Regions from separate parts of the Homo sapiens genome. Here region 2 is linked to region 1. The links are contacts of gene promoters, found by promoter capture Hi-C in blood cells and fetal thymus (Javierre and others, 2016). All regions are on one chromosome and are shown on one strand. Each heading gives the region's core, a stretch centred on a gene start or on the middle of the fragment in contact. The rest is flanking DNA. Distances are from core to core; before and after follow the strand shown. Region 1 holds the start of MATN2 (matrilin 2). Region 2 overlaps ERICH5 (glutamate rich 5).

The links. Contacts are between HindIII fragments. The CHiCAGO score rates a contact against its expected background, and 5 or more counts as called.
Region 2: a contact is called between a fragment that was not itself captured here and the fragment with the promoter of MATN2 in region 1, in 2 of 17 cell types (megakaryocytes and endothelial precursors). The highest score is 7.5, in megakaryocytes.

What each region holds. Positions count from the first base shown.
Region 1 is chr8:97,865,743-97,871,437 of GRCh38, reverse strand. It overlaps MATN2 (matrilin 2), which reads right to left and starts at 2,374. Exons shown (of 19, transcript NM_002380.5): 1 at 2,151-2,374. RefSeq lists an enhancer at 2,774-3,273. The HindIII fragment of the contact is 10,066 bases long and covers 390-5,695 here.
Region 2 is chr8:98,065,951-98,071,645 of GRCh38, reverse strand. All of the region lies in intron 1 of ERICH5 (glutamate rich 5), which reads right to left. Among named protein-coding and RNA genes, the nearest start is that of ERICH5, 4.2 kb to the right of the region's middle. RefSeq lists a silencer at 770-879. The HindIII fragment of the contact is 1,104 bases long and covers 1,618-2,721 here.

The sequences.
Region 1 (5,695 bases), core at 1,125-3,624:
CTCACCTCTCCTACTGCTTGCCCAGCCTCATACCCAACACCTTGCTCAGGCCAGCGTTAGACCTGTCACACCCTCTTCGGCCTGCTTTTCCTGAGGCCTAAGCCGGTCTCTCCCCCTTTTAGTCTCCCCACCTCACTCCTTGCCCTCTCTTAGGTGCCAGTCAGAACTGTTTCTAAATAAACTGTAGAATTATTTTTCCAGAACCTCCAATGGCTCTCTTATTTCAAAGAGCAAACATCTCTCCTTTTCTTTAAATCTCAGGCCACACTTTTAACTACCTTTTGCTAAACAAGGACATATGGCACTCGCTGATAAGAGCTTAGGGCATGACAGCTGCTCGAGGGTGTTTCAGATTTGGACTCTGCTCTGACACCTCCAACAAGCAAGCTTAGGCCTTGGTGGCCCTGGGTTGCCTGGGAACAAGAAACCCCAGAGCCCCGATTTATAGAAGACAGTGTCCTGGTAACTCGGGGGCCTGAGATTGAATTCTATTGGCAGAAATAAAAGTAAAAAGTGTGGACAGATAGGAAAATGCAAGGTGAAGAGCCATAAGTATCTCATTCTCCACAGAGGATTCTAAGTGCCAAGTTTCAGGGACTGAGAGGAAACATTCCAGGTCATAAACCCATGTTGGTATTTTGACATGGTTTTATGAGGTTGGCCCTTTGGGAGCAAGCAGGGAGAACTGCGCCCGTGTGGACTCCTGCATGGAACTACCAGTTGCATACACGTGGCTTATCTGCCACCCTCACGTACCCATGGAGAGCCTCTCTTTCTGAACTGGGGAAGAGGTACATTCACTGCTCATAGCAGCTCCTTGCTATTTCTGCAAAGACAAGCCATGGAACTCACCTAATCTTAGAATGCTCCTGGAAATGTTCTAAGGACTTTACTTGCCATATCTTTTTTTTTTTCTTTTGAGACGGAGTTTAGCTCTTGTTGCCCAGGCTGGAGTGCAATGGCACCATCTCCGCTCACTGCAATCTCTGCCTCCTGGGTTCAACCGATTCTCCTGCCTCAACCTCCCGAGTAGCTGGGATTACAGGCATGCGCCACCAAGTCCGGCTAATTTTGTATTTTTAGTAGAGACGGGGTTTCTCCATGTTGGTCAGGCTGGTCTCGAACTCCCGACCTCAGGTGATCCGCCCGCCCCGGCTTCCCAAAGTGCTGGGATGACAGCCCTGAGCCACCGTGCCCGGCCGCCATATCTCATTTAATCCTCACAGTTCTGTGGGTATTACCATCCTCATTAGACAGATGAGGAAACTGAGGCATACTTGGGTACCTTCAAGTTATCAACCCTGTAAACTTCACAGCTGGGGTTGAAACCCAAGCAGGCTGACCCCAGTCTCTGCTCTCGACCACGGGTCCCTGAAGTCTCTTGACTGCCCCATTCCTTAAAGGCCGATTTTAAGTGTGCTTGGTGCAGATGCATTGTGGCTTCCTGATTTATGACAAATTGAAACTTGGTCAATTGGGTTTGTTCAGGGTGGGCGCGAGTGTCCCTGAGGAGAGCACTTTCCTGTGCCCCCAGTCCTGGAGACCCTACCAGGGACAGTCCCCATTTCTCTGTCCTCTCCCCAAACGGCTCCAAATTGTTCTGGGGTTTCTAGCAACTACCACAAAATGCCTTCCCCTTTCTCTCCCTCTTCCACAATATAGGGAAGCTGGAGGTTTAGCTGCCATAGAGACCCAAGAACAAAATCCAGATGACACGGGCATGAAAATACCAGGTTCCGAAGAGGGAAGGGGGAGCCATCGGCTGTCCGTGGAATAGGAATCACCCTGCATACCCGCTCAACAGGTCTCCCTTTCCCTGGGTCGCGGTGGCCGGGGTCTGGGCGTCCCCGCTGCGTGCCACAGCGCCCCCACGGGGCACTCCGGGGCGGCTGCAGCGCGGCTTGTCCTGCGCAGGGAGCGCGCCCAGCTCTCCCGGCCGAGGGGTCGGGCAGCGCCGCCCTCCCTCTCCCCCTGTCCTCGGAGGGGTCGAAGGCGCCGGGGCCCCGGGGCGCTGGGGGCTGCAGTGCGGGCCTGGGGAGGGCGCCTGCGCGTCGGGCAGCCCAGGCTCGGTATTCTGTCGGTGGGTCGGTCCGCCTGCACTTCGAGGCCGCCCGGCCGCGCAGAGCCGGGGGAAAGCGCGCCGCGCTCACCTGCAGCCGCCGGCGCCTGGGAAGCGAGGCAGGGGCGCAGCCACCCGGGTCTTCCTCGTCGGCCTCTTCGCCTCGCCGAGGGCCGCGGCTCTCCTCGGGGATCGCTCGTGGGAGGCGAGGACGGAGCCCCAGCTTCTGCCTCTGCCTCTGTCTCCGCCGCCGCCGCTTGCTCCAAGTCCCATCCCAGAGCGCTCCCTTCGCTCGCTGGCTGCCTGGGAGGCGCTGGGCAAGGGCGGGCGGCTGGGGAGGCGGTGCCGCGGCGGGGGTGGGGAGCGGGCCGGGCGGAAGGAGGGGTGTCCTCTTTGGGGATGGGGAAGGCGCGGAGAGGGAGCGGCGGCGAGGGCGGCCCCACCCTGTGGGCAGCCCCGGGAGCTGGGCACTCTGGCGGCGCGCCCTGCCTGCTGCCACCTGGCTCCACTCCGTCCGTGCCTGAGCCCAGGCGGGCATCAGACTCCAGGGGTCCGGAGCCGCAGGCACGGAACACAGGCAGCTTTAGGGGCCTGTCGGGTTGGGAGTGCGGGGAGGGGTCTTCTGGGGGAAAGGAGACATGGCAGGAATCTTACATCTAGAACTTGGGGTCATGACCTGCGGGACGCACCCACTGACGCGGGGATGGAGAAAAAAGTGGTGAGAATTGGGCTAATTGATGACAAGCGCCAAGAGCTGTCTTGCCAGTGCCCAGAGCACCCCACCAGTGCCAGTTCATATTAACAGAGCGTCCACTGGCTGGGGACCAGGCCCCGGGATGGGGAGGAGGTAAAGATGCCAGGATGGAGAGGAGACAAAATTCCTACCCCGAGGGAGCAGGGAAAGTCTAGTTCAGACAAGACTTTTGAAATTATGAGCAGAGACATTTGCAACTTTGCAGAATGGAGGAACCTCACCTTGGATGTCCCCATGGAGCCTTGGAGGGATGCAGAAGACAGGATTGGCCAGCGACAGTCAAAGTGGCCGGCACCCCCCTCTACCAGCTCCCCAGTTCCTGGAGGCTGGGGTGAGTGGATGTATAACAGACCAGGACATCTCCTATAAAGCTCCAAAATTCTGTTCCCAAACCACTAGCCAACGCACCCAGTTCAGGTTTTGTGTTTTTGTTTGTTTGTTTGTTTTTTGAGACGGAGTCGCCCAGGCTGGAGTGCAGTGGCGCAATCTTGGCTTACTGCAAGCTCTGCCTCCCGGATTCACGCCATTCTCCTGCCTCAGAGTAGCTGGGACTACAGGCTCCCGCCACCACGGCCGGCTAATTTTTTTTGTATTTTCAGTAGAGACGGGGTTTCACCGTGTTAGCCAGGATGGTGTCGATCTCCTGACCTCGTGATCCGCCCGCCTCGGCCTCCCAAAGTGCTGGGATTACAGGCGTGAGCCACTGCGCCCGGCCCCAGTTCAGGTTTTAACAAGCTACCAGCAGAGGCAGCAGCACTAACTAGTTTCAAAACCTCTGGATGTGCCACAGTCTGATAATTTGGTGCTTTGGGCGGACTTTGTTTTGTAATTAACCATCATTCCTATTTGATGATAGAGTTGATTTCTGAAATATGAATAAACGCCAAAATCAATTCTTCAGAAAAGCTCCAGGAGGGGTAATTAAAATTCCAGCCATGAAGCAAGGGGTTAACATACTCGAGCCATCAGGCAAGTCAATGATACCTTAATACCAAGAAAGAATTGTGGATTCCTGTTCCTTTACCCAGTACCTTAGGCCCACTGGGCACTCTTGGCTGCCTGCACTGATCACAAATAGTTTTTTTGTTATGTCTTTGGGAGGAGGTAGGTGGAGGTCAGAAAGCAGAGGAAAGTCTTCAGGAAATGTTTGGTCTCTGAAGTCTTGGATCCCATAGAAGAAAATTCTTCCTGAGTCTGGGCCAGTGAAAATCCCCTAGGAACTTGGGAAGTTGAGCTACAGTTTATGGAAACTTAAATTTAAAATGTGTTGACTTATTCCAAGACACCAGTGTGATCCAGTAATTTACCAGGAAAACAATAACAATCCCCAAACCCTTCCAAATTGTAAGGAAATTGTAATTTAGTAACTGATTCCAGTGACTCTGGTGTATGCCAATTAAAATGGGTGTTTTCCCCCCAGGGAGTTCTATTGGAATTCTTCAGAATAGTTAATCTATGTACAAATTACACTTGGGGCCAAGTCAAATAGGTTAAATGAGTTGTTCTACCTTGTGGGATGATCTTCAGGTCTGCCAGAAAAAAATGAAGGAAAAGCAAGTTCAATGTCCTGAAATATAAAGGCAGAACAAACAATGAAATGATTTCTGGGTTACCTTCAGGATGAATTGCAAGTTGATAATTAAGACTATAGATTAGGAAAAGGCCAAAATTGCCTTTTCTGCTAGAGGTCCTGCCATGTGCTAGATGTACAGAGAACCTTATTCAGAAGTGTGGGTTTAAGATTTTTAGTTCTGGGACTGGGCGATGGCTCACACCTGTAATCCCAGCACTTTGGGAGGCTGAGGCGAACTGATCACTTGAGGTCAGGAGTTCTAGACCAGCCTGGTCAACATGGTGAAACCCCGTCTCTACTAAAAATACAAAAGGTAGCCGGGTGTGGTAGTGGGCGCCTATAATCCCAGCTACTCAGGAGGCTATAATCCCAGCAACTCAGGAGAATCGCTTGAACCTGGGAGGCGGAGGTTGCAGTGAGCTGAGATTGTGCCACTGCACTCCAGCCTGGGCAACAAAACTAGAGTCCATCTCAAAAAATAAAAATTAAGAATAATAATAATAATAATAATACAAAAATTATCTGGGTGTAGTGGCATACGCCTGTAATCTCAGCTACTCGGGAGCCTGAGGCTGGAGAATCACTTAAACATGGGAGGCAGAAGTCGCAATGAGCCGAGGTTGCACCACTGCACTCCAGACTGGGTGACAGAGTGAGACTCTGTCCCAGAAAGAAAAAAAACAGATTTTCAGTTCTTATGTGGGCACTCATGTAAGCAGACAAAAATGAGGTATGTATTATCTGAGAACTCCTAAGAGCTCACAAGTTAACTGGAATTGGTATCTGTTTAAACTAATCACAACCTGAGTAGCTATACTTGGGATCAACTCTCAGTTCTCGATCTCCACGTAGTCTATTGTGGAGTAAGGATTTGGGTCAGGAGAGTCATTTGACCCAGGCCTCACACTCGTGAACAGCCTCGAATATAGACTTTAAACATAAGCATCCCTTTGCTCCTTGTAAACATTAGAACTTTTTGTTTTGCATTAGAATCCTTCTTACTTGAGACCTAGCTATCTGGCCTAGAGGGCAGATTGAAATGAGACTGTCAAATCCAAAGGGGACCAGAGTACAGTATAAGGAAACTGAAGAAGAAACAGGTTGCCTCACGGACCTATAAACCTAAAATAAAGCTCTACTGAATGCATGAGGAGACATGTAAAATTGCAATGTCATCTCACGTGCACTGTTTCCCTAGGTGACAGACAGTGTTTGAGTCCTATGTAAACTATTAGAGCTCCTCCCTGTCTCCCTCAAGTAGAAGGCCAGGAGAGGAAACATCTTCATATCCGGCCAGCTGCCCATTTGT
Region 2 (5,695 bases), core at 920-3,419, 200 kb before region 1:
TACAGTGGGGCACAGTGGGTCATGCCTGTAATCCCAGCACCTTAGGAGGCTGAGGTGGAAGGATAATTTGGGTCCAGGAGTCCAAGCTGCCGTGAGCTATGATTGCACCATTGCACTCCAGCCTCGGCAACAGAGCAAGACCCTGTCTCTAAAAAAGAAAAAAAAATTACCTAGTACTACTCACACACACTCTAGGATTAGAAGCCTCATCAAGTTTTTATCAGCTTTGGTGAGACTTTCATTAACCCCCACACGTATTCAGGGTTTCTTTCAACTTGATATTGTAAAACATTAACATAGAAGTGAAACTGTACACATGAGCTGGTTGTGGGGCCACCTTACAGAAGCATGATTTTTTCTTTTTTTTTGAGAGGGAGTTTTGCTCTTGTCACCCAAGCTGGAGTGCAATGGCGTGATCTCTGCCCACTGCAACCTCCACCTCCCAGGTTCAAGAAATTCGCCTGCCTCGGCTTCCCGAGTAGCTGGGATTACGGGTCCTAGCTACCACCAGCTGCCACCACGTCCAGAAAATTTTTGTATTTTTAGTAGAGACGGGGTTTCACCATGTTGGCCAGGCTGGTCTTGAACTCCTGACCTCAGGTGATCCACCTGCCTCGGCCTCCCACAGTGCTGGGATTACAGGCATGAGCCACTGCACTCAGCCCAGAAGCATGATTTAATGGCAGACAATCAAGCGTTGTTTTACAGTGCTAACCTTTTCCTGCATAGCTAGGAGGCTCTATACACAACCCGACACTCTTTCTAAGCCCATCTTGGCCAATATTACCTTTCAGTTTCTGGTATTCATTAGGTTCTGATTCCTCCTCTGCTTTTCTGAGTAATACTCTTACCTCCCTGAATCCCCGTCTCTGTCAATCACCCATTCACCCATCCATCTACTCAACAGTTATTGCTTGCTTTTTTTTCTTTTCTTTCATTCTCTTTTCTTTTTCTTTTCTTTTCTTTTTTTTTTTTTTTTTTTTTTGAGATGCAGTTTCACTCTTGTTGCCCAGGCTGGAGTGCAATGGCGCGATCTTGGCTCACTGGTTCAAGCGATTCTCCTGCCTCAGCCTCCAGAGTAGCTGGGATTACAGGCATCAGCATACCAGTAAAAAATTAGCCACCACACCTGGCTAATTTTTTGTATTTTTAGTAGAGATGGGGTTTCTCCATGTTGGTCAGGCTGGTCTCGAACTCCCAACCTCAGGTGATCTGCCCACCTTAGCCTCCCAAAGTGCTGGGATTACAGGGGTAAGCCACTGCGCCCGGCCTCTTTTTTCTTTTCTTTAGAGAGAAGTCTCACTGTGTTGCCCAGGCTGGAGTACAGTGGTGCTTGACCTCCTGATTCTCCCACTACGGCCTCCCAAGTAGCTGGGATTACAGGCTCGAGCGTCCACACTCAGCTGATTGCATATGTTCTATGTGTAAGGCCACACTACAAGTTTCTTGCAGAACTAGGACCAGATCCCAGATGGAACTGGAAGTTGTGAAAAGAACAGGGGCTTTGGAGTCACACACATTAGCCATGTGCCCCAGGTCCATCCATCCATCTAGTAAGTAGGCTTACTAGACCTACTAGCTCTGAGACCAGGGCAAGTGACTTATCTGTATTAAGCTTCGTTTTCTAGCTGTATTTGGTGCAATTAATGTTTGTGTTTTAAGGCTATTGTGAGGATTAAATAAGATCACAAACTAAAGCACCTGAAACCAAGTGCATGCTCCCTCCTTATCTCCTGACTTCTGTCCCATGTGTATGTTTCGATGTGGCTGCACAAATGTCTGAAAGTTTTCTGTTTTAGAAAAAGATTTACTTTATTGTTGATGACAGTGTAAACTGCTTCAAGTCTTACAGAACACATTTAGGCAGTTATCTATCAAAACTTTCAGTGCGTACACCCTTTGACCTAGTAATGCCACTCCTGGGAAACTGTCCTACAGATATACTTGCACACATTCAAAATGATGTAGGCACAAAGGAATTCATGGCAGTCTTGTCTGCAACAGGGAAAGACTGTAAACAAATTAAATGTCCCTCAATAGGGGGGCTGGTTAAATAAATCAAGGAACATATTATTATGCAGGTATAAAAAAGGAGAAAGAAGTTCTCTGCATATAAATGTGGAAAAATCTCCATAGTGTTAGGTGAAAAAAACAAAGTGAGGAACGGTGGGTATAGTACACTACATTTTATAAATAAAGATGAGAGAAGGAAATAATATTTGCAATGCATAAATAAACTTCAAAAGAATATATAAAAAAAAAAACCCTAAAATAATAAGTGTGTATTCACAGGTGTGATTCGAACTAAATAGATGATGAGGATGGGGTGGAAGGTATACTTTTCAGACCTGCCTTTTCCAAATATTTTCACATTTTTGAACCATGTATGTAGTTTTTTTATTCCATTTCAATTAGCCATATGCAATCGCCAGGCCTATCACAAAGACATACCAAATGCTATTTAAGTGCCAGGCTCCAGAAATGACACAAGGCACACATTTGAAAGAAAAAAAATCCCATTTATATAATTTCTATATGCAAGAAAAGCCTATACAAATTAAATTTAATGTTTATGATGTTTGTTCTTCAATTCAAAAGGAAAACTTTTGTCTAGTTAGGACCAGATGACCTAACTAGATGTCAGAGTGTGAAATATTGGGTGAAAACTGAAGGTATGACTGCAGTACAAAGAACAATTCACATAACTGTGAAATTCAAGCTTCATCTGATTGCCTAGGCCGCATGGACAGCAAGCAGCTAGTGAAAGTTCAGGTTAGAACAAACAAATGATTATAGCTGTCAGTGGAAATGTACACATTAACCTAGCAATGAACTTGTCAATAATTACCACCTATTTACTTTGTCCATGTTTGGTGCTTGGGCTGTAACACCTTGGAAAGAAGTCTGCCAAAACAGATCCCATTTATATTAGGAAAGATTCGAGCAGTGATTATCCATGTTAGCAGAGGGCTAGGAACACTGGGAGGAGGGTTTGGATGTGAACGTCTATAGACACCTTCAGGCACATTAAGGTCTGTGGAGTCAATAAAACCTTTGTGTTCAGATTGCATCGGATCCTCAGGACACTCAAAACAACAGAAATTGTCCTAATATTTAAAACTTGCTTCCAAAAACACAAGAAATTCCAAACTCAATCTGTCTAATTATCCTTTGGAATGAAAAGTCTCTTTCCTCACACATTTCAGGGCACGTCATAAAAATCGATGTGTGACTACCACATATTAGGCACTGTTCTACGCTGTGAGGAGCACTAATAATTGTTAACAATCAGAGTCTTCACCTCTGTTCTCCCAAACACACACACCTATCTGGTCAGTCATCTTGGGAGGTGATAGGAAGCAGCTCCGTGAGATTCAGTGTCTAATGGGTCAGGGCAAATGTCCCCACATAATCAGTAGAATAGATTATTCCTGTGCAACCTAATGTCTACCTACTAGTAGCTGCTGTCTGATTTAAATTTATAACATAGGCTGGGCACAGTGGCTCATACCTGTAATCCCAGCACTTTGGGAGGCCGAGGTGGGAGGATCACTTGAGCTTGGAAGTTCAAGACCAGCCTGGGCAACATAGCAAGACCCTGTCTCAATTTTTTAAATAAAAAATAAAATAAATATATAATATTTGTATAACACATTATACTATATATCTTATTTAGGGATTAGACTAATATTTAGAATCATAATAAGGGATTATTCTATCCCTAAATAATATATATAGTATAGGCCACGCGTGGTGGCTCATGCCTATAATCCCAGTACTTTGGGAGGCTGAGGCGGGTGGATCACCTGAGGGCGGGAGTTCGACCAACATGGAGAAACCCTGTCTCTACTAAAAATACAAAATTAGCCGAGTGTGGTGGCACATGCCTGTAATCCCAGCTACTCGGGAAGCTGAGGCAGTAGAATCACTTGAACCCAGGAGGCCGAGGTTGCAGTGAGCCGAGATCATGCCATTGCACTCCAGCCTGGGCAACAAGAGCGAAATGCCGTCTCAAAAAAAAAAAAAGATACATAGTATAATTTGTTGATTGTATTGTATTGATTTCATTGTTTTTAGATAGTGGGTGACCACACACCTAATGGGGATCCAGAGTGATCTGAGGCAAAAACAGATTTAAATCTAGTTAGCAGAAGCTGGTTTAAACATATAGTTTCTTTTTTTTTTTTTTTAATTGAGTCTCACTCTGTTGCCCAGACTGAAGTGCAATGGCTCAATCATACTTCACTGCAGCCTTGAACTCCTGGGCTCAAGCAATCCTCTCACCTCAGCCTCCTGAGTAGCTGGGACTACTGGCCTGTACCACCAAGAGTTACATTCCCTGAAATACATGTTTTAATTTTTTTACAAAAATTTTTAGATACAGGGTCTTACTATGTTTCCCAGGCTGGCCTTGAACTCCTGGCCTCAAGCAATCCTCTCATATCAGCCTCCAGAGCCATTGGGATTATAAGCATGAGCCACTGTGCCCAACAAAGCATATGAGTTCAAAGCCCAGCTCTGATTCTTAGAAGCTCTGTGACCTTGGATAAATTATTTACTCTTATCTGTAAAAACAGGACAACCATAATATTTAGTCATAACATTGTTATAAGGATTAAATGAAGTAATTCATTCAACAAATAATTACTGAGGACCTATTATATGCCAAGCGTTGTTAGGCACTGAGAGTACAGTGAATAAATGCATGTACCAGACATGTAATAAACTTGAACTGTTTTTGTCTAAAAGTATGTACACACAAGCTTGAGGTTGTATATAGGATTTAAAGAAGTTGCAAGGTGCAGAAACAGGAATGAATTATTTATCGGGCCTAAGATCATGAAGCTGAAATGTTGATGAACACAGAATAGTATCTAATTACAAGAGAGTATTGTTTGATCGAGGGTTAGAAGCAAATAGACCTGTTGATTGATTCAACGTGTGTGTTGAGCAATTTACGCCGCATATTAGGTTAATTTTCTAAGGGCTAGAACTGGCTGTCAGGCATTTTAACATCTCTTCCATAACAACACCTATGAAAACTCAGAACAGCAATGAAAGCAAGAATAAAAAATGGAAGAGTGTAACTCACGTGGAATAGTTATTAATATTGATGATAAAATATTTTTAAAGATAAAGTTATTCATTATTTTCTGAGAGGATTAAAAACTGCATTCCACCTACTGAATACTTTTGCCCCAAAGTTACATTCCCTGAAATACATGTTTTAATCAGTTTAAAACTATGTAATGGTGACTCAGTACTCTGCTTGTTAAACCAGGATGCTACTCCTAGGATAACTGAAGCACAGCATGGGGTAGAGAAGTCAGAATAATAAAATGTATCTTCCTGAAGCATCTGTTTTCCCTCGGCTTTTCATATTGAAACCCACAAAAATCTATCATAGAACAGAATGCAAAACTCTACTTAATTTCATAACATAAAACACGAAACATCGAAACATCGGAGAAACTCCTTGCTCTGTCCTCTTGTTGCAGGTATGGAAGCTCTGGGTTCTTTAGGAGAAAAGTTAGTGAGCACTGTGCATTAGAAATGAATTTTTCCATCTTTTCACATTGTTGTCAGTGAGAAGGGGTTTACTTTTATAATGCTTTTAATTTTTTGTTTACTTCCTGACTTGTCATTGCTTTCCGTTATCTATGGAAACTAGAAATAAATTCTCATACACCACAAA